Regions from separate parts of the Homo sapiens genome. Here all the other regions are linked to region 6. Evidence: promoter capture Hi-C in human tissues and cell types (Jung and others, 2019). All regions are on one chromosome and are shown on one strand. The core of a region is centred on a gene start or on the middle of the fragment in contact, and the rest is flanking DNA. Distances in the headings are between cores, read along the strand shown. Region 1 overlaps LOC102723323 (a long non-coding RNA gene). Region 2 has its middle 86 kb from the start of HNRNPA1L3. Region 3 has its middle 32 kb from the start of HNRNPA1L3. Region 4 has its middle 69 kb from the start of HNRNPA1L3. Region 5 holds the start of LOC107984892 (a long non-coding RNA gene). Region 6 holds the start of SALL1 (spalt like transcription factor 1). Region 7 overlaps LOC102723323 (a long non-coding RNA gene).

Region 1 (2,700 bases), core at 126-2,625, 360 kb before region 6:
CAGGAGTGCCAAAATGTGGAAACCACCCAAATGTCCATCAACTAATGAATAGATAAATAAAATGTGCCCGGGCACTGTGGCTCGCACCTAAAATCCTCACACTTTGGAGGCTGAGGAAGGCAGATCACTTGAGGTCAGGAGTTCAAGATCAGCCTGGTCAACATGGTGAAACCCTATCTCTACTAAAAATACAAAAATAGCCGGGTGTGGTGGTGCACACCTGTAATTCCAGCTACTCAGGAGGCTGAGGCATGAGAATCACTTGAACCCAGGAGGTGGAAGCTGCAGTGAGCTGAGATCGCACCACTGCACTCCAGCCTGGGAGACAGAGTGAGACTGTCTCAAAAAAAAAAAAAAAAAAGTGGTATATGCATGCAATGAAATACTATTCAGTCTTAAAAAGAAATGAGTACATATGCAAATCCATAGGGACAGAAAGCAGATGAGTGGTTGCCAGGGGCTGAGGGGAGGAGAGAATGGGAGTGAAAACTAATGGATACAGGGTTTCCTTTTAGGGTGAAGAAAAAGTACCGAAATTAGATAGTGGTGCTGGTTGCACAACATTGTGAATGTACCTAATACTAGTCAATTGCACACTTTAAAATTGTTAAAATGGTATTTTATCTTATGTATATTTTATCACAATTTGTATTGCTTTTTTTAAAAGTTTTTGTTTTAGATTCAGGGAGCACCTGTGCAAGTTTGTTACATGGGTATGTTGTGTGTCGCTGAAGTTTGGGTTTCTAATGATCCTGTTGCCCAAGCAGCAAACCTAGTTCCAGATGTGTAGTTTTTAACCCTTTTTCCCCTCCTCCCCTTCCCCCTTTTCGAATCCCTAGTATCAGCCGGGCGCAGTGGCTCATGCCTGTAATCCCAGCCCTTTGGGAGGCTGAGGTGGTGGATCACGAGGTCAGGAGATCGAGACCATCCTGGCTAACATGGTGAAACCCTGTCTCTACTAAAAATACAAAAAATTAGCCAGGTGTGGTGGCACACGCCTGTAGTCCCAGCTACTTGGGAGGCTGAGGCAGGAGAATCACTTGAACCCAGGAGGTGGAGGTTGCAGTGAGCCGAGATTGTGCCACTGCCCTCCAGCCTGGGCAACAGAGCCAGACTCCATCTCAAAAAAAAAAAAAAAAAAACAGAAAGAAGAAAAGAATCCCTTGTATCTGTTGTCCTAACTTGGTGTCCATTTGTACCCAGTGTTTAGCCCCTACTTACAAGTGCAAACATGTGGTATTTGGTTTTCTGTTTCTGCATTAATTTGCTTAGGATAACAGCCTCTAGCTGCATCCATGTTGCTGCAAAGGATGTTATTTCATTCCTTTTTATGGCTGCATAGTATTCCATGGTGTATATGTGTCACATTTTCTTTATCCAATCCACCATTGATGAGCACCTAGGTTGATTCCATTTGTTTGCTATTATGTGACAACTTTTAGAAAGGGCTGGCACTTTGCTGCCACAATGCAAGGATGCCTGTGTTGGGACACATGCTCCAGCATCCCACACTGATCAGGCCAAATTTAGACCTTACCTGGCACATCCTTGCTCAGCTCTTGCCTCTCCCCTATCTGGTGTTCTTCTCTCCCTCTCAGGTTTCTCCTAAGAGCAGTCCCTCCCTCAATTAAAAAAGGACTTTTTAATTCTTCTCTCAGTCTCCACTTTTATGGAATGTGACCCAAAACCGTAAGTGAACCAGTGGATAAAATAAATGTGCAAATAATTTTTTTATTTTTTATTTCTTTATTTTTCTTTATTTAGTTTAGAAATGGGGTCCCACTGTGTCACCCAGGTTGGTGTGCATTGGCATAATCATAGGTCACTGCAGCTTCCAACCTCTCACCTCCAGCAAACTTCTTGCATCAGCCTCCCAGTAGGTAGGACTACAGGCATGCACCAACTCACCTGGATGATTTTTTTTTTAAGTTTTATAGAGATAGGGTCTTGCTATGTTGCCCAGGCTGATCTTGAACTTCTTGGTCTCAAGCAATCGTCCCACTTCAGTTTCCAAAATGCTGGGATTACAGGCACCAGCCACTGCATCCAGCCTACATAATTTTTGTAAATGCTCAAGCCCTCTAAGCTTGGAGCTGGGATTCAAACCCAGATGAGGTTGACTCCAAAGTCCACTCTCCAACTACTAGGGTGCCTTCCCTAACGAGTTCACTGAGGAAAATACGGCTTTGTGTGGACAAGACTGCGGAGCTGATGATGTTCCTTTAGGGTCCACACTTCTGCCCCTTTTCCTGCAGATATTCTTCGAATATCTGCACCTCAGACTAAATGGAAAGCCTATCTCAGTGGCTTTTTTCTCTGCAACCTCAAGCCCTGTATAACAATTATAACATACAAACACACACACACACACACACACACACACAAAATGAAAACAGCCCATCCCCCAGCCTTTCCATGTAACAGAGAAGTTACTGTATCTAGAAACCCAGCTGTCCAAACTGAGATCGCCAGTCTCCAAGCATATAGAAAGATTGGATTAACTCATTTGTCCTTGTGAAGACATTAATATTGTTCCATCACTGAGCAGCTGAAACCCCTGATAAATCTCTATTTCAAGGCAAATTTGTAAATGCCTAAGTGTAGTCATAATAATAGTGTTGTAAGTCTTATTGAACATGCTCAGAGCGGTGGATTATTTATAGCATCGTGTTCAACGTCAAATACTTCAGAACACAAATT
Region 2 (2,700 bases), core at 170-2,669, 410 kb before region 6:
CTACCTGAAACACTGAGGTTTCAAGGAGTTCCATGCGTCATCCCCGTCATAGGCTTGTGTGAGGGGCCCCTTCCTTCAGGTCTTCCTGTCTCTCCATTTTATTAGGGTTTGACATCAGTGACTCCATTTTGATACTGATAACTTTTGCAATATATACAAAACACACATACTATATATAATATGGATATGTACACATATGGTTGTGTGTGTGTGTGTGTGTGTGTGTGTGTGTGTATATAATGTTTGGGCTCAGGACATACTATCCCAAATATGACTATAGGAGACCAGATATGCCACCCCAATATATATTTATTTTGCATATTTGGAGCTGGTTATTCTGAAAAACTTCAGACGCAAGAGTAGCTCTGAAAAGTTGTTTTTTTTGGTAAAAGAAATTTACATCTATAAGGAAAATATGCATTAGTATCTGTATCAGAAGGAGCAGCTCCATTACAGCTTTTATTACCTGAAAGACTTACCTGCATAACAAGACAAATTTTATTCACTATACTTTTCCTCCCCTTGCCCTTCCATAAACTTGTCTCTACCACCCCTCGGAAGCCAAACCCCTATTCCTTTCTGTAGCTCAGGATATTAAATAAGCTTCAATCATCTGGCCTCTCTTGGAGTCTCATATATTTGCGGGACTCCTGTGCTCACATATGTAATAAATATGGTTTTGCTCCTGTTGATCTGTCTTGTGTCCATTTAAGTTGTAGCTCAGCCAAGGAACCTAGAAAGGTAGAGGGAACCATTTTCCCTCCTCCACAATACATACATACATAGTAAATACATACCTACATACACTACTTACTCAAACTTAGAGAGAGAGAGAGAGAGAGAGAGATTTTAAGAAATCGGCTCATGTGACTGTAGGGGCTGGCAAGTCTGAAATCCACAGGGCAGACTAGCAGGTTAGAAACTCAGGTAAGAGTTGATGGTACAATTTTGAGTCTAAAATTCTCAGAGCAGCAGGCTGGAAACTCAGGCATGCTTTCACTGTTGCAATCTTAAATAGATTTAGTCCCCACTGGTCTGCCCTTATCTTTTCTCGCCTTCTTCAATCCATTCCTCACATGGCAGCCACGGTGAGTTTAAAATGCAAATAGGGTCATGTGACAATTCTTCTTAGAACACTTCAGTGAATCCCTTATTGATTGTAGAATAAATTACAAACTCTTAATGGCCTGAAAGGGAGGGCCTCAATTTGTGCAGAATAGTTCTGGTTTCAAAGTGTTATTTTGGTTTTCATAGCACCTTCTTCCCTCAGATGTGTCCCGGGAAGATGACAAACTATACGATCAGCCTCCCTAGGCCTGGAGTGGCCTGGTGCATGCAGAATCTCCAGCCAATCTCATGCCAGTGTCCCCTTCTACTCCTCACTCAGGCCACACTGACCTGTCAGTCCCTCCCTCCACCAGCCTCCCTCCACTCTTGAAGACTTTACCTTGGCCATTGCCTCTGCTGGGGACTGTCTTCCTTCCAAGCTTCCTATATTTGTTAATTTCAAATACTTCTTGGATCTCAGCACCATTGTTACCATTACCCTGACCCTTTTCTAGAGAGATCTCCCTGAGTGTATTAGAATTCTCAGAAGAAACATAACCAAAAGAAATACTGTGTATATACAGTCATGTGTCACTTAGTAATGGGGATACATTCTGAAAAATGTATTATTAGGTGATTTTGAGGCTGTGCAAACATCCTAGAGTGCACTCACCCACACTTAGATGGTGTCGCCCACGACACACCTAGGCTCTATGGTATGGCCTATTACTCCCAGGCTACGAACCTGTCACAGCATGGGACTGTACTGAATACTGTAGGCAGTTATAACACAATGGTAAGTGTTTGTGTGTCTAAACATATCTAAACATGGAAAATGTACAGTAAAGATAGAATCGTATAATCTTATGAGACCACCATTGTACATGCAATACATCATTAACCAAAACTTCATTAGGCAGCCTATGACTATCCACGGCTTACTCTATTATGGAGGCGAAGAAATCAGTTCCAAGATCTGTAGTCAGAAAACCGGAGACTCAAGAGAGCTGATATGTAGCTAAACTCTGAAAGCTGACAAGCTTGAGATTCAAGAAGGGCCAAAATTTCAGTCTGAGTCTGAAAGCTGGAAAAGACGCAAGTTCCAGCTCAAGCAGTCAGGCAGAAGGGGTACCCTCTTACTCAACTTTTTTGTTCTATTCAGATTTTCAATTGTCTGGATGAGATGTGCCCACAATGGGGAGGGCAACCTGCTTTACTCAGTCTACCGATTCAAATGTCAGTCTCATCCAGAAACACTCTCACAGACACACACAATAATGTTTGGCCAAATGTCTGGGCACCCCATGGCTCAGTCAAATTGAAATATAAAAATTAACCATCACGCTCAGCTTTTCAATCATGTTTGCATAAGCCGATAGCAGAAAGAAGATGTGCATATGAAGTCAAGTTGCTGGCCTGAGATATCAGAAGGCATGCAATTGGAAAAACTCAGAAATAAGCCTATACGGCACAACATTGTGCGTAAAATGAAAATTGAAAGCTCTTGACTCAGACACACAGGCTGGTTTCTTTTCTTCCTTGTAGTCATTGGATAGTCTCTGCTGAACTTTAGAGTGTTGGGTGATGACCCAGGGAAATGAGGGATACATGGAGTTCATTTTTGACCATCTTCTTCCACACACTTCTATGCGT
Region 3 (2,700 bases), core at 194-2,693, 460 kb before region 6:
TGAAAATTGCACCTATTTAAATTGAGATATATTTAGAGAGAATCGCAAATGATCATTAGTAAACATGCAGGATTAACAACTACTCAATAATGATGTTTCTTTACTTACATTTTCATTTTTAATAATATCTTGATCCTCCTGGTCTTCTTGCTATGTTTTGGCCTGTTTATTAAAACGTTACCTATAAAATGCTTAAGTCCCAAAGAATTTCAGCAGGTATTATATCAAGACCCTTAATTAATTTTTTTTTTCCAGATCTGAACACTGAGGTTCCTAGGTGACAGATAATGCTCCTGGCCAACATAGGATCTCATTTGAAGATGACAGAGGAACTATTCGTGGATAGGCCATTCCTTTCTGCTGTAAGAATCAGTGAGCAAAGGAAAGAGATTCATGTGCCATTTCATTGGCTTAAGGTACTTTTCTGATATAACAGAATTTTGGGGCCAAATGCCTGCTCAGCATTCATTTTCATGGCTGTGTTTCCTAACAACTATCTACTACCTTTTACTGATTCCAGTCAAATAAGGGACATAAATAATTTTTTAAAAATAAAAAGAAAGGAACAAAAATCTTGACATTTTGACCAAGATTCTGGTTGAATCTTGTAAGAAAAATGGCCATGGATGATTTTTAAGTAAACATATTTTCAAGGCTTTGTTTGCTTCTAAATCAAGTTTTGTAAGAATGCAATAGCAATGCGTGATTACAAAGCGGCTAGTTAGTTTTCTCTTTGTCAGTCACTAGAAGACAAAAATTAAAGCTCACGAAATTTTGCATCTTATCAAATTTGCTCGTTTAAATTAATAAGAAATACCTATGTAATATTTATACTAGAGGTTGCTTAAGCTTTCAAGACACCTTTAAAATGTGATAATTTGGAAGTTGGTTGATTAATGTGCTCATTTGACAGCTTCAGTTTTTTTTAAAGAAATTTAAGAAATTAGATTTGCTCTTATATTCAGATATATTAATACTTTCAAGCAGGGCTCTGGGGGGTGCCTTATTTAAGCACACTCCCAAAAAATGCAACAAACTTAAAATGACACTACAGGTTAGTGCAAATTAGGCGGTATTATCAAACCCCGTTCTCTATAATCTTCTTATGGTGTGTAAAAAGATCCACATCCCTTCAAAACTTAGATCTCCAAACTTCATATGACTAAAGCAAAACATCCAAAAATATGTTTATATAAAAAAGAGATCAACAGAAAGGAATTTACACTGGTAAATTATCTTTTTGGTGGTTGTTTTTGTTTGCTTGTGAAAAAATGAAAACTCAGTATTGGTTGCAGTTAAGCTCACTTCAGGATTATATGTCCCAGAAGAATTTTGAAGATTAACTTTTTTTTTAAAAAAAAAGATCTTTTACAGTCCTTTCAAAATTGCCTGGGAAAAGAAAATAAATGCAGGTGATGTGCCGATCCAATTTCCCCACTCCATTGAGAACTTTTGAAAATTATACTATTCGAAAACAGTTTTCCATAAAAAGAATTTTGAACAAATTTGAACATTCAATCACATATGAAAACAAGAGGCCACGTGGTGCTAGATTGGAATCCCTCTTCATCGGAATTTGTTTGAAGTACTTGGGGGAAAAATAAGGGAAAGAAACTACATTTGGTTTAGAACTGCCAGCACTAGCAGGCACTTCTCACTCCATGTGGGTGATTCTTCCACCCTCACAGTGCGCCCCCAGCAGAGTATCAAAACCATGAGAAGGAGCAGCTTTGAAGATGGAAGGCCTGGATTACAAGATCAGCTGATGACTGACAAGCTGGTCTCCTTGGGCAGGATAATGAAGCTTCAGTTTTTCCACCTATAAAGTGGAGATGATGATCATGGTGATTACCCCCACAGAGTGGTTTTAAGGCTACATTCAGATAATTCATGGAGAACATTTAGCAGAATGTCTGGCGCATGGGAAGAACTCAATAAATGCTATTAACTATTACAGAGGGAACACTGCGAACAAATTGAATCATGTTACAGGCTGAGGAGAGAAGCCCGAGCTAGCAAAAATGATTGGCAATGTATCTTGAGAAGCACAGGAACACTTTGCCTTCAGAGAGTTTTCAGCTGAAAAGTTATAGGTAGCTATTTCACACCAGGCAGGGGAAAAGGGAGCTGAACAAAAAAGTCAGGGTGTTAAGAGAAGAGGTGGTCTGCAGAAAATAGAAATAAGAGTAGAAGCTAAGAGGCAGCATAGAAGAGTAGAAATTCTTTGGAATTAGAAAGTTCGAGGCCCATTTACCTCTTCTGTCCATTATTAGTTGCATGGCCCTGGTCATGTGATCTGTTGTTTCCTATGCTTAGTTCCTCATTCATACAACTTGTTATTAAAGGTTACTTTGAAGGCTTGCCCTGATGTCCTAATGAAAAGGCACATAATGTGTCTAAACGTAGCACCTGAAAGTACTCTACAGACAGTAGCTCTTACTGTGAGGTGTGATACTCAGGTACAAGAGTGTCCACAATGATGGAACAGGATGGAAAAAATGGTTCAATGGCTCAGGGAATGTATTGACAAAATAAATAAATGTGAACACATGACACAGCACCATTGCCAAATTAGGAAGTAGGAGAGATGGAAACTGTTTAAAACTTTGTGAGAATGGCCAGGTGTGGTGACTCATGTCTGTAACCCTAGCACTTTAGGAGGCTGAGGCAGGAGGATTGCTTGAGCCAAGGAGTTTGAGG
Region 4 (2,700 bases), core at 170-2,669, 430 kb before region 6:
ATAAAGGAGTGAAAAGAGGAAACTTCTATTGCTAAACCCAGCCTCTTAACCATCACACCATCTTGCATCCATGTGAATTTAGTAGCATTCAAGCAGTATTTAAAACAATGTATGAGTTTAATTGTAGGAAAGAATGAGATTCAAGGTTCTCTTTTTTTCTGTCTAAAATTATGCATGCATTTCAGGAAAGGGTTGTTTGTTGTATTTTTTTTTGGATGCAGTGTTTGGCTCTCATGGGAAAATGGCATCTTCTTAATAAAGGGACAGATAAGAGAATAATCTGTTAAATGTAATCATAGAAAGACATTTTATGATTGTGCCTGTTATGATTTGGCTTCCCATGCATTGTTGTCATTCAATTCCATAAACATTCCTTTGTTCAGGAGATGACAGCACCTACTCTAAAGGTATTGTTAATATGCTGAGTAAAAACACACTTACCCTTTGCAAGCTATGGTTTTGCTTTGAAATCTCTGTAATTAACACATTCACATTTCAGGCACCGGGTATTATTGAGTTCAAAGAAACAAAGATGTATTTCATTTTTTTTTCTACAGATGATTCATCAGTTCCACTCCTTCCACCTACAGATGTCTAAACTTCAGTTTTCTGTGAAGCTACAAAGCATGAACTGGCATCTACACATTGAGTCAGAGGACGCCAAGTGTTAAACTGTAATACCGCCAACAGTTCGGTGTCAAGCCTCTTAACCTACTTTCCGGTGTAGGCGTCATTAACAATGCTCTTTGCCCTTGGGCACTAAAAGGAAAAGACTCTGGTAACCCTACACCAGTGGTTCCACTTAAGTAACTACCTGATGCATAGTTATCTTTCCAGGCTATCCGGTGAAGGGAGTGGAAACATTTGCTTCTGGGTCCCAGCCTGGCAAGCTGGTTAACGCTTGTCAAAGAAACAGCTCACTGTTTCCGATGCTCAGTCTCTGACCCGTACTTGAATTTTCACACCCATGATAACCAGATAATACCCTGGTTTGTGTTTGCTGGGCCACAAGACAGCACAAACATCATTGTGTCCACTTAAAACACACACACACGAAATAATGCATTTAAGAGGAAACACTGACATGCCTTGGCTAACTTTCTAGATGCATCCGTACTAATTTGAAATATCACCCCTCGCAATCTCCAGGTGATGAGTTTAGAAACTCTGTCATTTATGTATTCTTTATTTGTTCAAGTAAATATATTAAGCATTCAAATATTCACTACGGATCTGCTTAAAGAGCTACTGTATACTTTTTTTTTCAATGTATTAAGACTGCCCCTGGCTATCAACTTGAGTCTTGACCAGTTGGGCTAGCTAATTAGGTTGAATATTCCAGATAAATGAAACTCCCTGCAGAGAGAGATAATTCAAGCCATTCCCTATTTTATAACGAACATTGTAAAAAGTGATTTCTTCATTAGGAGAAGACGGGGCTGCTGCAAGGCGGTGGAAATCTGCAGGAAGCTCTCCTCCAATTTTGCAAAGGGAATATTTTCAACAGGCATATCCTCAACATTTAAAAATGTCCCTTGGGGACTAAGTAGGCCAACTTTTGGAAGCCGGCAATTTTTCAACCCCAGATCAAAAGTGACATTTTACAAGAGGCACAAAAAGAGAAAAAAGGAAAAGAAAGTCTCATCTGCTTGTGTATAAATGAGTACTGTGTATAATCGCATGCTCGTATATAACTCTGACCTGAGCTCTCAGCCAGGAAATATCTGCGGCCACCATTAAACAGGATATGGCCCATCTTGCCCATGGCTCTGCTGGTTCTGAGCAGCACACAGTGCATTTTTGTCTGAGAGTGAAAACAGGAAAGTTCACCTTTATCTGCTGGCTTTGAGTTGACTTTGGACACCTGGTCACACTAGGCTGACAACCTTCTGATGTGTGATATTCTTAGAACTTTTCACAGAACCGGATGCACTGAGCATCTCTGCTTCTGCCAGACCTCCATGTATTTTGCTGAAGACAACAATGCTGCACCCTAGCCTTATATACCCCTCTGGGGACATGGTGGGGTGTAGTGATCTACTCCAAGCAACCAGGTATATCCCAAGAGGCCCTTGTCCACATTTCCAAAGCTTCAAGTTACTTCTCCACCTCGCTCGATAAAAGAACAGTTTCCAGTTCAATCCATAGGTCTAGGGTAATCAATGTCTCATTCTGAGGGGCAACATGACAATCTTTCTGTTATCCATTTTAAGTAAGCCTTTCTTTATGCCCACCCTACATTGCTTGCAGTTAATGTCTCATTAAGCATAGAGCCAGGGAAGCTGATTGCCCACTGACTATCTTCTGCCACAATAGGAAAGCATGCAGAATCGGAGCACAGATTGCCTTCAGCAAGTTACAGCCATCTTCAAGCCTTAGTGTCTACTGCATCAGTCCTGATTTCCTTGCCTAAATTTGAAGAATCTCTGTCATCTTGTCTCAAGATATTTAAGCCATGCTATACAGCAAGTGATCACCTACATTAAAACCATGGTTGCTCTCCCGGCTTTTCTTTTCTTCTTCTACTCTTCTTTTTCTTCTTCTTTTTTTCTTTTTCTTTTTTTTTTTTTTTTTAGAGAGAGGCAAGGTTTCACTCTGTCACCCAAGCTAGAGTACAGTAGAGTGCAGTGGTGTAACCATAGTTCACTGCAACCTTGAACTCCTGGGCTCAAGCAATCCTCCAGCCTCAGCCTCCCAAGA
Region 5 (2,700 bases), core at 3-2,502, 480 kb before region 6:
CTAAGTGGCTCAGTAATTTCTTCATAGTGCTCCTAGTTCAAAAGAATTACCCATCAGTTCCCTTTAGTAAGTAGTCAGGGCCAAACAACTCAACAAGTATGAACGTCCAAAAAACTTAATGGGCATTTTTTAAAATTACACATTTGTAAGAAAAAAATCTGTTTATTTTATTCTCCAATATTCAGAATTACTAATGAGATGTCTGCAATGTGTCAAGTCTTAACATCAGATTGGACACCACCACCATTTCCTGTTCCACACTGATCTTCACATGGTTCTTGCTTTTTAACACAACCTCTGAAAACCGAGCCTCACAAAGGTAAACTATCTTATTTTATTTATTTATTTATTTATTTATTTGAGATGGAGTCTCGCTCTGTCTCCCAGGCTGGAGTGCAGTGGCGTGATCTCAGCTCACGGCAACCTCTACCTCCCAGGTTCAAGCAATTCTCTGCCTCAGCCTTCTGAGTAGCTGAGATTACAGGCTACTACCACCATATCTGGCTAATTTTTGTATTTTTAGTAGAGACGGGGTTTCACCATGTTGGCCAGGCTAGTCTTGAACTCCTGACGTCGTGATCCACCCACCTCAGCCTCCCAAAGTGCTGGGATTACAGGCTTAAGCCACCGCACCTGGCCTAAAGATAGGCTATCATCCAGAAAAATATACTGTGATCTAATGTTAAAAATAAGTTAAAACTACCTCAAGCTAGTAGTTTGCACAGTGTCTGACAAATGTTACTGTGTTTTCCTCAAAAATTTAAAACATCAGACAGTCCTCGTGTGAATTCACTGCAGCATACTGGGTGCCTTGGTGCACAGTTTGGAAATTGAGGCACAAGAATTAACGTTTCTTGATGTCATGAAATATACCATGTCCAGGCCAGGCGCAGTGGCTCATACCTGTAATCCCAGCACTCTGGGAGGCCGAGGCGGGTGGATCACGAGGTCAGGAGATCGAGACCATCCTGGCTAACACGATGAAACCCCGTCTCTACTAAAAATACAAAAAGTTAGCTGGGCGTGGTGGTGGGCACTTGTAGTCCCAGCTGCTCCAGAGGCTGAGGCAGGAGAATGGGGCGAACCTGGGAGGCGGAGCTTGCAGTGAGCCGAGATCATGCCACTGCACTCCAGCCTGGGTGACAGAGCAAGGCTCTGTCTCAAAAAAAAAAAAAAAGAAAAGAAAAAAAGAAATATACCATGTCCATATCCATATTTTCTGTACATTAGCCTAGCATGGGACTAATGTACTCAATAAACATTGTTTAAAGAACGTTGCTTTTGGTTAACACTTTTCTAGTTTAGATTACTTTAATCACAGTACCACAATTTGATAACATATATCCAATGTATATATAGTCACTACCAATGCAGAGGAATATATTTTCTTACATACACTCAAAGAGCTTAGGTGGAGGAAATTGATGGAGTCATCTCTATTTGAAATGTCTTATAGATATTTCTCTGTGAAGAAAGCTTTTATCTCTAGGATTCCTAGATTTTCTCTAAACTTAGGAAAATGCTTAAAAAGTTCCATTACTTGCTTGCTCCCTGATATGGTTTAGCTCTGTGCCCCCACTCAAATCTCATGTCAAGTTGTAATTCTTGCCTGTCAGAGGAGGGGCTTGGTGGGAGGTGATTGGATCATGGGGGCGGATTTCCCCCTTGCTGTTCTTGTGATAGTAAGTGATTCTCATGAGATCCTATGGTTTAAAAGTGTGTCACTTCCCCCTTTGCTCTCTCTCTCTCTCTCTCTCTTGCTCTTCCATGGAAAGACGTGCCTTGCTTCCTCTTTGCCTTCTGCCATGATTATACATATCCTGAGGCCTCCCCAGCCTTGCAGAACTGTGGGTCAATTAAACCTCTTTTCTTCATAAATTTCCTGGTCTCAGGTAGTTCTTTATAGCAGTGTGATAATGGACTAATACACTCCCTAAGACATTACAAACATACACAGAAGTAAGTGTATGATCCAAAAATTGCTTGGACCACTTGATTTTATCCAAAGGTGGATGAAGGTGCATATGTCCAGAACCAGAGGACTTCTTCCTTGCCTTTAACTTCCCTCTAAGCACAAAGGCCTTGGCCTGTGGCTCCCACATGGATACCGTGTAGTTGAGTGAACCTGAAGAATCATATCCCACACAATGCAGCCTTGGCTAAAAATGAATACCCAGTGGTGTACATATACCCAATGATACAGAAACATAATGGAACAGTATTCAGTCTTAAAAAAGGATACAGTCCTCATCCAGCTACAACATGAATGAATCTTGAAAACATGATGCTAAGTGAAAGAAGCCAGCACAAAAGGCCACATGTATGATCCTACTGGTCTGATGCATCTAGAACAGGCAAATTCATAGAGATGGAAAGCAGAATGGAAGTTATCAGGGGCCGAGGGCAAGTGCATAGAGAGTTATTGTTTAATGGGTGCAGAATTTCTGTTAGGGATGATAATAAAGTTCTGGAAATGGATAATGGTGATGACTGCACAACTTTGTAAATGTACTTACTGCCACTGAATTTTACACTTAAAAATGCTTAAAATAGTAAACTTTATATTACGTGTATTGTACCATTTTACCATGCACAGACACAAAATTGCCCAGCCTGACGAATGAGATTTGCTTAAAAAGATGTCACCAATAAATAAAGTTTAGAAAATAAGACTGCCACAGCTGCCACATTGTCTAAGTC
Region 6 (2,700 bases), core at 79-2,578:
TGTGTCTCCCTAGGCCGGTGCTCGCTGCTGCGCTCAGTGTGAGCCGCAGCCCCTCCCCTCCCCCCGGCCGGAGCTGAACTCGGAGCCCAGGCCGGTCCCCGCTCTCCGCCCGCCCGGGGCTCTGCGGCGCCACCGCTGCCGCCGCCTCCCCGCGGAGTGACGCGCCCTGCAGCCAACCGGGGCAGCCGGGGGGGAGGTCCGGGAGGGGTCCTGGGCGGAGCCGGGCCGCCCCCTTATCCCACGGGCTCGGGGCTGCTTCTCCCGAAAACTTCAGCCCTAATTGTCCTGGGAATGTCCGAGGTAGAGAAAGGGAGCGAGGGAGCAAGCAAGAAGCTGGAGGATCAGTGCCCCTGGCGGGGAGGGGATGGGGTGGCGGGAGAACTGCCCCTCCCCCCAGCCACAAACCCATCAGGTTCCCAAACCTTTCCTGGATCCTCTTCTCCGCGCCCCCGCGAGCCCGGGATCCAGGGGATGGAGAACTCGGGGCGGAGGAGCGCCGAGCCAGGCGGGAGGGAGGCCGAGCCGTGGGCGGGAGGCGGACCGGCGTGGGGCTGGCTCTTCCCCACTCGCTTATTTTTTTTTTTAATGGGGGTGGGGGTGGGCTGCTTTCTGGTAGCTCTTAAAGAAACGAAGAAACACTCACGAAACGGGACGCCCTCCCCCCTGATCCCGCCGCGGGACTCCCTCCCCCCGCGGGCCGGCGCGCCTCGCCCCCGAGTTGGGAAGTTCGCAGCGCGCCGGCAGCCCGGGTCCCCAGCCCTCGCCGCCCGGCCCCACCCCCCACCCGGGGCGGCTCAATTCCGGGGAGGGCATGCTAATTTGGGTCGGCCCAGCCCGGGATTGTGGGGGGGGGCGAAGGAGGGAGGGAAGAGGGAGGGGAGAGGGAGAGAGCGGGGGGCGCCTGCCGGGGCGCCGGGCCCGCAGTGGAGAGGAGGCCGGCCCCCGGCGGCCGGGCCGCGGAGTCCCGGGCGGTCGCAAAGAGGGTTAACCCAGTGTCGGGCGGCGCGGCGCGCAGAGCCAGCCCCGCGGCCGGCTTATTGGGCCAGCGCGCGGAGAGACAGGGGTCTGCAGCAAATCACGAACTAATTGATTAAGGCGAGCGGGTTTGAATAGCGCTGGCCCGGTGCCAATCGCCTTTCAAAGAGCCCCTCTATGATTAATCGCAATGCATTATTGATAATCATAATTATAGCAGGACACATGCGCGCTGCGCCCGGGGCCGGGGAGCCGGGGAGGGGGCGGGCGGGCCGGCGGGCGGGGGGAGCCGCCGCCGCCGCCGCCGCTCGATTTCCGTAATTTTGAGAAGATTTTTTTTTAGTAATTTTTTATTCTGCCCCAGCTGATGTTTGAGCCAGCATGTCGCGGAGGAAGCAAGCGAAGCCTCAACATTTCCAATCCGACCCCGAAGTGGCCTCGCTCCCCCGGCGAGATGGTGAGTGCTCCGGCCCGCGCCGTGGACACACACACACGCACTCACACTCACGCACACTCGGACCCACTCACACGCGGCTGGCCCCCGCGCCCCCTACCTCACCGCCGCCGCGGCCCCGATTGCTTCTTCCACTCGGCGTAATTTTTTTTTTCTTTTTAATTTTCAATGTGCCTTTGCTGGGCTTTCCCCCGCTGCCCCGGGGAAAGCGAGCACATCTCCCGGCAGGATCTTTCCGGAGTTGTTGGGTCCTCCCGGGGGAAGGAGGGCGGGCATGCCGGCCTGGCTTCTCCGTCCCTGCTTTTCCGGGGATCCCAGCCGCGGCCAAGACCCGGGAGCCCCATGAGGCGTGGGTGCGGGTGGAGGTCGCCCCGGCCTGACCGCACGGGGCCCCTAGCGCTCCCGGCGCCGGCCCCAGGGCACCCGGCCCGGCCTCCGCCGCCCGGCCTTGCTGCCAGCGGTAAGGAAGTTTACTTCGGGCGCTGGGCTGAACTCCGAGCGTGGGGGAGTTCGCTGCGCCCCCCTGCCCCCACGCACACTCCCCCTCGGCCTGCGAGGCAGAACCGGGTGTCTTTGGAGGTTCAGAGCTGCAAGAAGATGGGGACTGGTGTCGGGGCGCCAGCGCCTGACCCGCTGGGGTTGCGGCCGGGGTGGAGAGTGCTGCTGGCCGCCAGTTGTTCCGGAGACGGTGCAAACGGACGGGGAAAGTGTCGGGGTCTGGCTCGCAAAATTTATCTCCGCATCTCTTCCCACAACACTTGCACCCTCTGCCCCCCAAAATCTTTCTGGTCGGTATGCGCCCTCTGCGGATCGTGGTGCTCCCTACTTCCAGGGGGGTCAGGGAAGAAGTCATAGAATAGTTTTCCAGGTTTGCGGGTGGCCAGCCAGAGTGGAATCCCCCCTGAAACAGGGGCACTTGTTTTCTCCGATGGAGGCGACAACTGTGGGTCCCGAAGGGGCTGAACAAGTCCAGAACAAAGTTTGTGTGTGGGGGCTATGGCAGAGAGTGGAAGAGATCCGGGCAGGGAGTTGGGGTACAAAGGGAGGACACCTGGAATCCCTCCTTGCTCCTAAAGGTGTTTCACGGTACCGGCCTCAAAGCTCCCAGGCCTAGCGCCCGAGGCGGTGTAGCGGCGCCCGGACTCGGGTCCCCGGGTCGTCCCGGCACGATGCTGGCCTCTCGGCTGTGGGAGGACGCACAAGGAGCAATCTCGGCGGGGTCTCAGCGGCTCCGGATGCCACTCGGGATGCCCACGCCCTAGGCGGCATTT
Region 7 (2,700 bases), core at 161-2,660, 340 kb before region 6:
CAGAGTCTTTCTTCTTTCCTCACGCCAGCTACCCAAACCAAGGAGAATACCAACGTGAATTGTCTTTCCACCTGTTGTGTGGGGCCAGCAATTATTCTTTTAGCTTGACGCGTTAACCCACCTGCTCCCTGTGGCCCTGGGATGCTCTGCCATCCCCCGTGGCTGCCAGTTCACTTAGGGTAGACTTATGGCAGAGGGATGTCAATTTTGCTTGAACTGCTCAATCACTGCTGACATTTCGTTAACCACCCTATGAACTTCTCAAGCCTGAAGTAGCAGCAACTTGTGCCCTTGAAAACTGAACAGAAAACAACTGTATTGATTTTCTACTATCAACAAGAAAAAGACAATTTCTCTTTGCTGAGAATGTTCATAATGCATTTTACACCACTTATTCTCGGCAGTCCACCTCTTCCTGATATATTGTTGGGCCTCTTTAAACCCCTGCTGCTTTAGACTCTGCTAGAATTAACCCTGAAATGCCAGCACCATCTCAAGCCCTTCCAGTTCCCGGATAGAAATGTTCATCAGTGCTGAATTGACAGCCTACTTAGGCAAGGGAGCTGTGATCATTTAGAAATTACAAAGGAACTCAGGCCTGGGTGAAGGGTTTGGGGTTGGGACACTAGGAATCTCTTTTAGTAAAATTCTCTTTTAAAAGAACATATCTCTTTGGTTTGTTAAAAGCACTAATGATGTCTATATGATATTTTGGAGATATATCAGCATATACACTGACCAAACTGATTGAATAGGAAGTAATTTTCAGTAATTTTTACCACTCATGCAACCATTCTTGCTAACTCAAGACCCAAGATTTAACTTGTGTATGATTATTCCAAATTACCAGGCCTTTCTTTTCTTTTTCAACCTGCATTAAAAAAAAAAAAAAAAAAAAAAAAAAACTATCAGGCATGCCCTAATAGTTCCATTTTTTTTGAAATTTCCAACATACCAAAAAGAGACTCCAAGGAACTGAAAGAGATTCAAGAAGCTTGAAAAAGCAAGCCTGACCCTCTGGGACAACTGTAGTGTCAAAAGCAGTCAATATTTATGCCTAGCAACCTTGACAATATCCTTTTAATTAAAATCAATGGAGAAATAAAACATGCATTAGAATGCACGTGGGATCACTCACCTCACGAGACAGAGAAGGAAGACTCTGATATTATGCACGATGTGATTATGACAAGACGCTGGATCTTCTGTATGAGACATGGGTTCTGGTATTTGCAATTAGATCTCTTCTTTTGACGGTTGTTTTCATTTAGTGTTATTATTTTCGTTTTCAGTTTTTTGTTGGTTTCTCATTTGGTGCAACTTTCTTGAGACACATGTTAAAAAACATACACAGAACAATCTTAGCTGGGTGTGGTGGCTCACTCCTGCAATCCCAGGACTTTGGAAGGCCAAGGAGGGAAGGTTTCTTGAGCCCAGGAGTTCGAGACCAGCCTGGCCCACATGGCGAAACCTCTACTAAAAATGCAAAAATTAGGCGGGTGTGATGGTGGGCACCTGTAATCCTGGCTACTCAGGAGGCTGAGGCAGGAGAATTGCTTGAACCCGGGAAGCAGAGGTTGCAGTGAGCTGAGATCATGCCACTGCACTCCAGCCTGGGTGATAGAGCAAGACTCTGTCTCAAAAAAAGAAAAGAAAAAAGAAAGAGATTTTAAAAATTTCCTGGGTGTGATGGCACATGCCTGTAGTCCCAGCTACTTGGTAGGCTGAGGTAGGATCACCTGAGCATGTTGAGGCTGCAGGGAGCTATGATTGTGCCAGTTTGGGTGACAGGGCAAGACCCTGTCTCAAAAAAAAAAATTAAAGTAGAAACTTCTTGTAAAGTCAGATAATATGTTTATCAGGTTCAAACTATAACCTCGATTTGATGTGGCAATTGAAAAAAACAGGGAAGGAGACCACAGAGTTTAGGAGAATGGTGTTCTTTTGGTAGCTCTGCCTCCAACTAGCCATATGACCTTGAGGGGTGTGTGGGGGCATCATAGGCAACATCTTTGAGTCTCAGCTGCCCCTTCTCTAAAATGAAATGGTTAGTCTCAATTCTATGAGTTTCTTTTGGCTCCCTGTAAACATTCTATTAGACCAGTGATTTTTAAAATAATAGCAACTATTGTTCATTGAACACTCCCCATGTATAATGCAAGAATTCTCTCAGTCAATGAGATAGCAGGTCCCATAATTGTTTCCATTTTATGGATGTGGAAACTGAAGCTGAAGAGATGGAGCCATTCTCTCATGTACCACCAGCTGGCTGAAGTGTGAATGTATTCAAAGGCTATGCGCATCACCATTGTCTCACACCACCTCCCCGGAGTCTATGGAAGGTAGAAGGGCCTTAGGTCCGAAAGATGCCCCTAGTTTCCCTCTGTAGACTTTGAAGGGTCTTCTGACTGTGCCTTCCAGCTAGCAGATTTCTCTAGAGCTCACTTGGCTTGGGGACGCTTCACTTAACCTCAGGCCACTTCCACTGCTGCAGAGTTCACCTAACCTGAACCTAGACAACTTTTCTATACATCCAGATTTTGTTTCAAAGGCTCTCATGCAGGCAGGCTTAACAATGACAAGTTAAGTTTCCCAAGAATAGAAGGCAATTTAACACTGTCCTCTCTGGCAGGGCCAGGCAGATTAACCATCAGATATCAGCACTTTATAAAATCCAAGCATCACAGAGGTATTTTTGTT

What was found. Contacts are between HindIII fragments. The study calls those that stand out against the background at their distance.
Region 1: a fragment that was not itself captured here is called in contact with the fragment with the promoter of SALL1 in region 6 in 2 of the 25 tissues and cell types used here (dorsolateral prefrontal cortex and mesendoderm cells).
Region 2: a contact is called between a fragment that was not itself captured here and the fragment with the promoter of SALL1 in region 6, in 5 of the 25 tissues and cell types used here (IMR-90 fibroblasts, heart left ventricle, hippocampus and 2 more).
Region 3: a fragment that was not itself captured here is called in contact with the fragment with the promoter of SALL1 in region 6 in 4 of the 25 tissues and cell types used here (H1 embryonic stem cells, dorsolateral prefrontal cortex, heart left ventricle and 1 more).
Region 4: a contact is called between a fragment that was not itself captured here and the fragment with the promoter of SALL1 in region 6, in 6 of the 25 tissues and cell types used here (aorta, bladder, dorsolateral prefrontal cortex and 3 more).
Region 5: a fragment that was not itself captured here is called in contact with the fragment with the promoter of SALL1 in region 6 in 4 of the 25 tissues and cell types used here (dorsolateral prefrontal cortex, heart left ventricle, mesendoderm cells and 1 more).
Region 7: a contact is called between a fragment that was not itself captured here and the fragment with the promoter of SALL1 in region 6, in 3 of the 25 tissues and cell types used here (H1 embryonic stem cells, mesendoderm cells and pancreas).

The regions. Positions count from the first base shown.
Region 1 is chr16:51,510,322-51,513,021 of GRCh38, reverse strand. The region is part of intron 1 of LOC102723323 (a long non-coding RNA gene); the gene reads left to right. Among named protein-coding and RNA genes, the nearest start is that of HNRNPA1L3, 130 kb to the left of the region's middle. The HindIII fragment of the contact is 4,324 bases long and covers 1-2,700 here.
Region 2 is chr16:51,558,486-51,561,185 of GRCh38, reverse strand. No RefSeq gene overlaps it. Among named protein-coding and RNA genes, the nearest start is that of HNRNPA1L3, 86 kb to the left of the region's middle. The HindIII fragment of the contact is 4,980 bases long and covers 1-2,700 here.
Region 3 is chr16:51,612,305-51,615,004 of GRCh38, reverse strand. No RefSeq gene overlaps it. Among named protein-coding and RNA genes, the nearest start is that of HNRNPA1L3, 32 kb to the left of the region's middle. The HindIII fragment of the contact is 3,771 bases long and covers 1-2,700 here.
Region 4 is chr16:51,575,840-51,578,539 of GRCh38, reverse strand. No RefSeq gene overlaps it. Among named protein-coding and RNA genes, the nearest start is that of HNRNPA1L3, 69 kb to the left of the region's middle. RefSeq lists an enhancer at 201-1,400. The HindIII fragment of the contact is 6,997 bases long and covers 1-2,700 here.
Region 5 is chr16:51,631,577-51,634,276 of GRCh38, reverse strand. LOC107984892 (a long non-coding RNA gene) reads left to right here and starts at 164. Exons shown (of 3, transcript XR_001752181.1): 1 at 164-319. The HindIII fragment of the contact is 6,440 bases long and covers 1-2,700 here.
Region 6 is chr16:51,149,898-51,152,597 of GRCh38, reverse strand. SALL1 (spalt like transcription factor 1) reads left to right here and starts at 1,328. Exons shown (of 3, transcript NM_002968.3): 1 at 1,328-1,432. The coding sequence starts at 1,357. RefSeq lists an enhancer at 1,631-2,131. The HindIII fragment of the contact is 9,229 bases long and covers 1-2,700 here.
Region 7 is chr16:51,491,129-51,493,828 of GRCh38, reverse strand. The region is part of intron 2 of LOC102723323 (a long non-coding RNA gene); the gene reads left to right. Among named protein-coding and RNA genes, the nearest start is that of HNRNPA1L3, 150 kb to the left of the region's middle. The HindIII fragment of the contact is 5,159 bases long and covers 1-2,700 here.